Linked DNA regions of Homo sapiens: regions 1 and 3 are each linked to region 2. Evidence: promoter capture Hi-C in human tissues and cell types (Jung and others, 2019). All regions are on one chromosome and are shown on one strand. Each heading gives the region's core, a stretch centred on a gene start or on the middle of the fragment in contact. The rest is flanking DNA. Distances are from core to core; before and after follow the strand shown.

The links. The method cuts DNA at HindIII sites, captures the fragments that hold promoters and counts their contacts. A contact is called where the count stands out against the background at its distance.
Region 1: a contact is called between a fragment that was not itself captured here and the fragment with the promoter of PIF1 in region 2, in 1 of the 25 tissues and cell types used here (spleen).
Region 3: a contact is called between a fragment that was not itself captured here and the fragment with the promoter of PIF1 in region 2, in 2 of the 25 tissues and cell types used here (aorta and dorsolateral prefrontal cortex).

The regions. Positions count from the first base shown.
Region 1 is chr15:64,415,575-64,418,593 of GRCh38, forward strand. It overlaps TRIP4 (thyroid hormone receptor interactor 4), which reads left to right. Exons shown (of 13, transcript NM_016213.5): 9 at 2,967-3,019. Among named protein-coding and RNA genes, the nearest start is that of TRIP4, 29 kb to the left of the region's middle. The HindIII fragment of the contact is 9,009 bases long and covers 1-3,019 here.
Region 2 is chr15:64,824,397-64,827,570 of GRCh38, forward strand. PIF1 (PIF1 5'-to-3' DNA helicase) reads right to left here and starts at 1,251. Exons shown (of 13, transcript NM_001286496.2): 1 at 1,173-1,251. RefSeq lists enhancers at 1-194, 1,384-1,513. The HindIII fragment of the contact is 20,575 bases long and covers 1-3,174 here.
Region 3 is chr15:64,431,338-64,434,591 of GRCh38, forward strand. The region is part of intron 11 of TRIP4 (thyroid hormone receptor interactor 4); the gene reads left to right. Among named protein-coding and RNA genes, the nearest start is that of ZNF609, 28 kb to the right of the region's middle. The HindIII fragment of the contact is 3,066 bases long and covers 411-3,254 here.

The DNA of each region.
Region 1 (3,019 bases), core at 192-2,691, 410 kb before region 2:
TCTGTCTTCACATGGACTTCTTCCCCATGTGTGTCTCTGTCACTGTGTGCTCTCTCCTCTTACAAGGATACAAGTCATTGGATTTAGGGCCTACTATAATCTAATATAACCTCATCTTAAACTGATTACACCTGTAAAGATTATTTCCAAATAAGGTTGTATTCACAGATTCCATGAACGTGGACATTGATTTTGGGGGGATACTACTCAACCCAGTACAGTAAGCAACACCTGATCATGAAAGATTTTTTGTCTTATGCTAATGAGTTTAGGTTTTGCCCTAAAGTAGGCAAAGAAGGGTTCTGGAAGAATTTTAACAGAAGATTGGCATGGCTTCCATGCCTACGTAGAGAATGGATTGGAGGGAAGAGTAAGTAAGATTAGAAGCTGAGAAATTGCCAAGGTAGTCATTGCAATAGCACCATGGAAAGATGATGCCAGCCCAAATTAGTATTAAAGCACTAGTGGAGCAGTAGAGAGTTATTTAAAGACCAAAAGTGGGAGCCGGGCCTGAGATGTAGTGATACACATCTATAGTCCCAGATACTTGGGAAGCTGAGGTGGGAGGATCACTTGAGACCAGGAGTTGGAGGCTGCAGTGAGCTATGATTAAGCCACCACACTCCAGCCTGGATGACACAGTGAGACCCCATCTCTAAAAAAAAATAATTATCATCATAAAGACTAAAAATGTAGATGAAGAGACCTGCTGGCAGATTCTTTAATAGTATTATCAAAAGATAATGAGGAATTAATTTAGGAAAGTGGCTGTGTAATTAGAGGGAACAGCTGTAGTAGAAATAGAAAAAATAATTTGGGCCTCAAGATTGTTCACATACCAACATTTTATGAAATTATTTATTTCCAGCCAGGTGTGGTGGCTCACGTCTGTAATCCTAGCATTTTGGGAGGCTGAGGAAGGAGGATCACTTGAAGCCAGGAGGTCAAGACCAGCCTGGGCAACAGAGCAAGACAGTGTCTCAAAAAAAATTTTTTTTAAAGAAATTATTTATTTACCCTATAATGGATCAATTCTTTTTCCTCTTTGGTCCTCTGTAAAAACTTCTATCTCCTATTTAGTATGTAGTCAATTCTGCCTTATGTTTTGAATAGTTATTTATGTGTCTGTCTTCCACTAGGCTTTAAGTTCCTTGCAAGCAAGAACCGTATCTTTTTCATATTTTATGTCTCCCTAGTTAATGTGCTTTTCACAGTTAAGTACTCAATAAATGTGTATTTAATTTGTAAAAATGTGTATTTTTAAGATATGCCACAATTGACAAGAATCATAAAATTGTATGGCAGAAAGATCCTTAGAAATTTATTTAGTCCAACTTCATCCTTTTCCAGTTTGAAAAACTGAAATCTTTAGGGGTTAAATGCCTAGGGTTTCGACTACCACTAGAAGTTTTTTCCTATAAGTTATTTTATGTTCATTTTTATTTATTTTTGAGACAGGATATTGTTCTGTCATCCAGGCTAGAGTGCAGTGGTATGATCATAGCTCACTGCAGCCTCCACCTCCCAGGCTCGAGAGATCCTCCCATCTCAGCTTCTCAAGTGGCTCAGACTACAGTAGCCACGTGCCATCATACCTTACTAATTTGTATATTTTTTTGTAGAGAAGGAGTTTCGCCTTGTTGCCCAGGTTGGTCTTAAACTTCTGGGCTCAAGCGATCCTCCTGCCTTGGCCTCCTTAAGTGCTGGGATTACAGACATCGGCCATCATGCCTGGCCCTTATTATTATTTTTAAAGACACAGGACCTCACCATGTTGCCCAGGCTGGCCTTGAACTTATGGGCTCAAGTGATCCTCCTGCCTCACCTCCTGAGTAACTAGTGAAGCTACAGGCATGCTTCACTGTGTTCAGCTTTATAAATTATTAATTTTTTAAAAAAGATAACCCCAAATATCATCATGCTAATTGCCTTTATTTTTAAATTTTAATTTTGGAGGACATGGTATCGTTGCTCTGGAAGAAACATTAACCTTTGCCATTCTCTGTCTGAACTGTTGCCAAGACTCTTCACTCTCCTGTAATTACCTGTACCTTATAATTCTCTATTCTTTTTATATGATGGGAGCCCTGTTTTAGTAGTCCTCCACCCTCTCTTTCAGGAGACAAGTTCTTCATTTCAGGGTAAGAGAATATTTCATGCATCCAGTAGTCAGAACTGCTGCCTCTGACCTGACAACATCTGTTTGGCTTTGTCATGGTGCCAGCATGTGACACTGCCCCTAAGCACATGCAGAATTGTGGACCAAAATGTTGAACTTTCATTTAGCTCACAGAATTCTATTGAAAAATTATCCAGAACCAAGTATGGATCATTAAGTATAAATTGGAAATAATTATAGCTCTTTTGGTGTGATATTTGTGCTGTTGCTGGAATTAGTAAGCATTGTATGGAGATTTCAACATTCTAATTATTCTTTAAGATGGGCCTTGTTATCATACCTGAGACTTCTACTGAATGTATACTATCTCTACCCTTTTGGCCTTATTGCAGACAAAGATGGGATTATTTTTCATTTGTTGTTGTTGTTGTTGTTGTTCTGAGACAGAGTCTCTCTTGCCCAGGCTGGAGTGCAGTGGCACAATCTTGGCTCATTGCAACCTCCACCTCCTGGGTTCAAATGATTCTCCTGCCTCTGCCTCATGAGTAGCTGGGATTATAGGCACCTGCCACCACGCCCAGCTAATTTTTGTAGTTTTAGTAGAGATGGGGTTTCACCATGTTAGCCAGACTGGCCTAGAACTCCTGACCTCAAGTGATCCACCCGCCTTGGCCTCTCAAAGTGCTGGGATTACAGGCGTGAGCCACGATGCCCGGCCTGGGATATATTTTTCTAAGAAAAATGTTCCCAATATGATTTCCTCATTATTAGCATTCGCATCATTTTGTCTACCTACCCCAGATTCTTGCCTTATAAGATAGAACTGTATGTTTGTTTTTCTGTGTAGTGGGTTGACCACACAGGTGCAGCCTCACAGAAGAAGGCTTTCCGTTCTTCAGG
Region 2 (3,174 bases), core at 1-2,500:
ACGTAATGGGTGCTATAGGGGACGTAATGGGTGCTATAAAGGACGTGACAGGGAGCAGGGTCAAGGCTACACAAGATCACGAGGACTGTCACTGGTAACACAAAGAGGTCACAAAGACGGAGAAAGGGCTTTGGGCTAACCGAAAATCCACCCTTAGAATATGCCCTGGGCCGGGCGCAGTGGCTCGCGCTTTAATCCCAGCACTTTGGGAGGCTAAAGTGGGCGGATCACCTGAAGTTAGGAGTTCTGAGACCAGCCTGGCCAACATGGTGAAACCTCGTCTCTACTAAAAATACAAAAATTAGCCGGGCGTGGTGGCGGGCGCTTGTAATTCCAGCACTTTGGGAGGCTGAAGAAGGAAGATCGCTTGAGCCCAGGAACTCGAGACCATCCTGGGCAACATAGCGACACCCTCTAATTAAAAAAAAAATACATACATATAAATACATACATATGCATACATTATATATATGTGTGTGTGTGTGTGTATATATATGTATATATATATATACACACACGCACCCTGCTACACAATTTCCATTTCTATATATCCAATTTCTATATATATATACACACAATATATATACAATTTCTATATATATACACACACACACACACACACATATACACACACACCGTGCTACACAACAATTTCCAGAGCGGCGGATGGGCACCGAGGATTAGGGAGCCTCAGGTGTCCTGCAAGGACCTCACTAGAACAGGGGTCCCTGCGCAGAAAGAATCCTCCTTCCCCGAGACCCAGGGCGAGCACATGAATCCTCAGAGTACTCTCCCCAGGAAGCAGGAGAATCGCCCGTGGGGAGATGCAAAGAGGGCTGCCGTGTAATAAGCGACTTCTGCCTTGTAGGTACATTCACTGGCTTATATGCAGCGGGCAGGTCTCACTCTTCCCCGTGTACAGACGTGGAAACAGGCTAAGAGAGGGAAACTCACTTGCCCTTCATAAGCCACAGCGGCTAGTAGTCAAAGTCAGTGTGATTCCCATGCCCTCGCGCTTCCCACCACCAAGGTGGGGACGAGGTGGAAAATATTCGGCTAGGGAAATCGCGGGGGACCCTGGGACCCTAGAAGCCGTGCTCCCTCAGGCTGACCCATTTGTTTGCACCCTCCCGCCGGAAACCCCTAGATAAATCAGGCTCTTTGCTCCCCACCTCTGGGTTCGGGCAGACACTCACTTGTGCCGACACTCAGATGAACAAGCAGATCGTAGCCGGCCTGTGGCTAAGCTCCGAAACTAGAAATTTTTCAAATGCTAGAGGCAGAAAATCACCCAATCACCGACTGGATCTTTAAATTCTCCAGCCACTCAGAGGTAGGGGCGTAACAATGGGCGTGTCTTTCTTTGCGTCTCTACTCCAGGAGCTTGGGCTGTACCAATTGCCTGCTAGAGGAAGGAGGTTTATGGTGGTGGCTGAGCATACCAAATCCAGTGGACGGCTGGGCGTGGTGGGAGGAGGCCGCCGCTGCGGCAGCCACCCGGCGGCGCGTGGTGTCGGGTCTGAAAACCCTACGCGACTCCGAAGATTTATTTTCAGAACCATCCTTCCAGCACACTCCCTCTCCCCTCTAGCCCGCACACAGAGGCTGGGCTTAGCCTTGGGGAAGATCTGCCTTTGGACTCTCACACCCCTGTTTACACTCACAGTACCATTGTCCAGTTCTGGGCAGACCACCCCAAGGCCTGCCCAATCCCTCCCCCGCCCCCAACTCTACATCCTTCTCTGCCTTTGTAAGGGACTTTACGCTTTGGCTCTCTCACCCACCTGAGGCCCATGAGTGAGAAACTCTGAGACCTGTGCCACGTGCCAGAGGGTACAGCGGAAGCGAGTAGAGTCTCTGTCTTCAGGGAAATTGTATCCCTCTTCTTGCACAGGATGCTGAAAGAATTTACTTTTAATCATCTTTATTATCTCATTGAAGCTTGGAATTACATAGCTGGAAAGGATCTTACAGGTGAGTCTGGCTACCTCATTTTACAGATAATGATAACTACCATGGATTAAATTGCCCTTTCCTTTCCTTTTTCCTTCTTAGGGCTCACTCTGTCGCCCAGGCTGTAGTGGAGTGCAGTGGCACAATCTCTGCTCACTGCAACCTCTGCCGTGGCGCGATCGTGGCTCACTGCAACCTCCGCCTCCTGGGCTCTGGTGATCCTCCCGCCTCAGCCCCCCAGGTAGCTGGAACTACAGATGCACACCCAGCTAATTTATATATATATATATATATATATATATATATATATATATATACACACACACACACATATATACACACACATATATATACACACACATATATATATACACACACATATATATATATACACACACATATATATATATAATTTTTTTTTCGTATAGACGGGATGTCACCATGTTTCCCAGGCTTGTCTCGAACTCCGGAGGTCAAACGATCCACCCACCGTGGCCTCCCGAAGTCCTAGGATTACAGGCATGAGCCCGGACCTTATTTTTCAAATGAGAAAAAAGCAAGGCTTCCAGAGATTTTACTGAAGGTCACATAGCTGATATGGAGAGCAAAACCAAACATTGAACCCAGATTACCTGCTCGCTTAATCACTCCATGGGGCTTAGCTACTACACCACACTGCTCCCAGTCTGTTAGCGGTAGAGGGTGATGACTGAAAGTTGTCCAGGTTCTTGGCGTTTTGAACAAAGAATTGGACAAAATGCCCATCAAAGCAAAGAAAGAATGAAGCAACAAAAGAACAAAAGCAGGAATTTTTTGAAAACGAAAGTACGGCTAGGCGCGGTGGCTCACGCCTGTAATCCCAGCACTTTGGGAGGCCGAGGTGGGGGGATCACTTGAGGTCAGCAGTTCCAGACCACCCTGACCAACATGGTGAAACCCTGTCTCTACTAAAAATACAAAAATTGCCGGGTGTCGTCGTGGACATCTGTAATCCCAGCTGCTTGGGAGGCTGAGGCATGAGAATCACTTGAATCCAGGAGGCAGAAGATACAGTGAGCCTGGATCGTGCCGCTGCACTCCAGCCTGAGCGACAGAACGAGAACTTGTCTCAAAACAAACAACAACAACAAAAAACAAAAACGAAAGTACACTCCACAGTGTGGGAGGGGACCCGAGATACAGAATTTTCTTGGGTTCAAATACCCCCTAGAAGTTTCCCAT
Region 3 (3,254 bases), core at 694-3,193, 390 kb before region 2:
GACAATTCATTAAAATCACAGCTCACTTGAGTGAGATATAGGGAATGTAGTTTTGGAATTCTCTTGAAGACTGGAACATTGACAGGCTGGGCACGGTGGCTCACGCCTGTAATCCCAGCACTTTGGGAGGCGGAGGCTGGTGGATCATGAGGTCAGGAGTTCAAGACCAGCCTGGCCAACATGGTGAAACCCTGTCTCTACTAAAAATACAAAAAAAAATTAGCTGGGTGTGGTAGTGGGTGCCCGTAATCCCAGCTACTTGGGAGGCTGAGGCAGGAGAATCACTTGAACCCGGGAGGCAGAGGTTGCAGTGAGCAGAGATTGCACCACTGCACTCCAGCCTGGGCAACAGCGTGAGACTCCATCTCAAATTAAAAAAAAAAACAAAACTGGAACATTGACTAGAGTTTCTAGATCAAAACAGACTGTCTTTAGGGTTATTTGCAGTCTGGGTATTAAGTACCCACTTAAATGGTTTCAGAAACCATTTATATTATATATATATATATATTTTTTTTATCCAAAGAGCATTGTGTTTTCTTTTTTTTTTTTTTTTTTTTTTTTGAGACGGAGTCGTACTCTGTCGTCCAGGGTGGTGGAGTGCAGTGGAGTGATCTTGGCTCACTGCAACCTCTGCCTCCTAGGTTCGAGCAATTCTCCTGCCTCAGCCTCCTGAGTAGCTGGGATTGCAGGTACGCACCACCACGCCCGGCTAATTTTTGTATTTTTAGTAGAGACAGGGTTTCACCATGTTGGCCAGGCTAGTCTTGAACTCTTGACCTCGTGATCCGCCTGCCTCGGCCTCCCAAAGTGCTGGGATTACAGGCATGAGCCACCATGCCTGGCTGAGCATTATGTTTTCTGTTGTACTTATCCTGAAGAGAGATGGGAAATATTACCACTTTTCCATGTATTTAGTGTTTTGGTTTTCATCTGAAAATAAACATGAAATTCTTAAGATTTTCATATATATTTATTCATTAATAAATACTTGAGCCAGGCGCAGTGGTTTACGCCTGTAATCCCACCGCTTTGGGAGACCGATGCAGGCGGATCACTCAAGGTCAGGCTCTTGAGACCAGCTTGACCAGCTTGGTGACCATCTCTACTAAAAATACAAAAATTAGCTGGGCATGGTGGCGCACCCCTGTAATCCCAGCTACTTGGGTCACTGAGGCAGGAGAATCACTTGATCCTGGGAGGCAGAGGTTACGGTGAGCCGAGATTGCGCCACTGCACTCCAGCCTGGGTGACAGAGCAAGACTCTGTCTGAAAAATAAATAAATAAATACAGCCGGGCGTGGTGACTCACACCTTTAATCCCAGCAGCTTGGGAGGCCAAGATGGGCGGATCACAAGGTCAGGAGATCAAGACTATCCTGGCTAACATGGTGAAACCCCTTCTCTACTAAAAATACAAAAAATTAGCTGGGCGTCGTGGCATGCGCCTGTAATCCCAGCTACTCGGGAGGCTGAGGCAGGAGAATCTCTTGAACCCGGGAGGTGGAGGTTGTAGTGAGCCAAGATTGCGCCACTGTACTCCAGCCTGGGCAACAGAGCAAGACTCCATCTCAAAAATAAATAAAAATAAATAAATAAATAAATAAATAAACACTTGAGAGCCTATTATAAATCAGGCACTGTTCTAAACACTAAGAGAAACAAAAGGATGAATCAACTGTAGATTCTGTCCTCAGATGTTTGAAAGACTTCTAGGTAGATATGTATATAAACCAAATATAAAATAAAAAGTGAACCTAACTGTCTTAAAAGAAGTAAAGACTGTCTCTGAGAAAAATAAAGGAGGGAAAGCTTGCTTCTAGCTGGGAAGGATCCCAAAAGACTTTATTTAAAAAGATGGTTTTGAATTAGCTTTGAAGGATAGTAATGAAATCTATCACTTTTTGATCAGTTATTATGTGCCACATTCATCATGCTATTTTCTAATCCTTATAATAATTCCAAGCAGGGTGTCATTTCCCCTCCTTTAGGGATGAAATATCATCCCTAAAGTGTCAAGAGAGTTCAAATAACTTGTGTAATGTCCAGGGTGAGGAGTTCGAGACCAGCCTGGTCAACATAATGAAACCTCATCTCTACTAAAAATACAAAAAAAATTAGCCAGGCGTGGTGATGTGCACCTGTAATCCCAGCCACTTGGGAGGCTGAGGCAGGAGAATCACATGAACCCAGGAGGCAGAGGCTGCAGTCAGCTGAGATCGCACCATTGCACTCCAGCCCAGGCAACAGTGCGAGACTCCATCTCAAAAAATAAATAAAAAATAACTTATGTAATGTCAGTTAATGGTAGAGTTATGATTTTGCTGTTCAAGTGTTTCTACTGAGATGGTAGAAAAGCATATTACAAGGATGAGGAGTAATGGGAGCAAAGGCACAGAGGTGAAGTTATCGGCCTCTATGGAGAATAATGGCAAACCAGTTCATTGAAAGAAGAGTGTGAGTATAGAGCAAGCTTGTCCAAGCTGTGGCCCGTGGGATGCATGTGGTCCAGGACGGCTTTGAATGAGACCAAACACAAATTTGTAAACTTTCTTAAAACATGAGATTTTTTGTGTGTGATTTTTTTTTTTAAAGCTCATCAGTTATCGTTAGTGTATTTTATGTGTGGCCCAGGACAATTCTTCCAGCGTGGCCCAGAGAAGCCAAAAGATTGAATACCCCTGGTATAGAGGAATAAGCAGCAAACAAAAAATGAAATGGGGAGTCTCTCTGAAACTAATCTGCTTCTGGGACTGCCCAATTAAAAAAAAATTAAAAAGGGCTGGGCACAGTGGCTCACACCTGTAATCCCAGCACTTTGGAAGGCCGAGGCAGGTGGATCACCTGAGGTTAGGAGTTCGAGACCAGCCAGACCAACATGGAAAAACCCCGTCTCTACTAGAAATATAAAATTAGCTGGGCGTGGTGGCGCATGCCTGTAATCCCAGCTACTCAGGAGGCTGAGGCAGGAGAATCACTTCAACCCAGGAGGCAGAGGCTGCAGTGAGTCGAGATTGTGCCATTGCACTCCAGCCTGGGCAACAAGAGTGAAACTCCGTCTCAAGAAAAAAAAAAAAAAAATGAAAAGGTAGGTTTGTTCAGATGATAGATAGTTTTGAATGATAGGCATTCAAATCTATCAAATGATAGACATATCAGTTGTGGGATGGGAAAGAGTGTTTTGAAGTTTTTTTGAGGCATTAACATGATCTGAGGCTTGCTTGAGGGAAAACTAATTTGGCAGAAATGTGGAA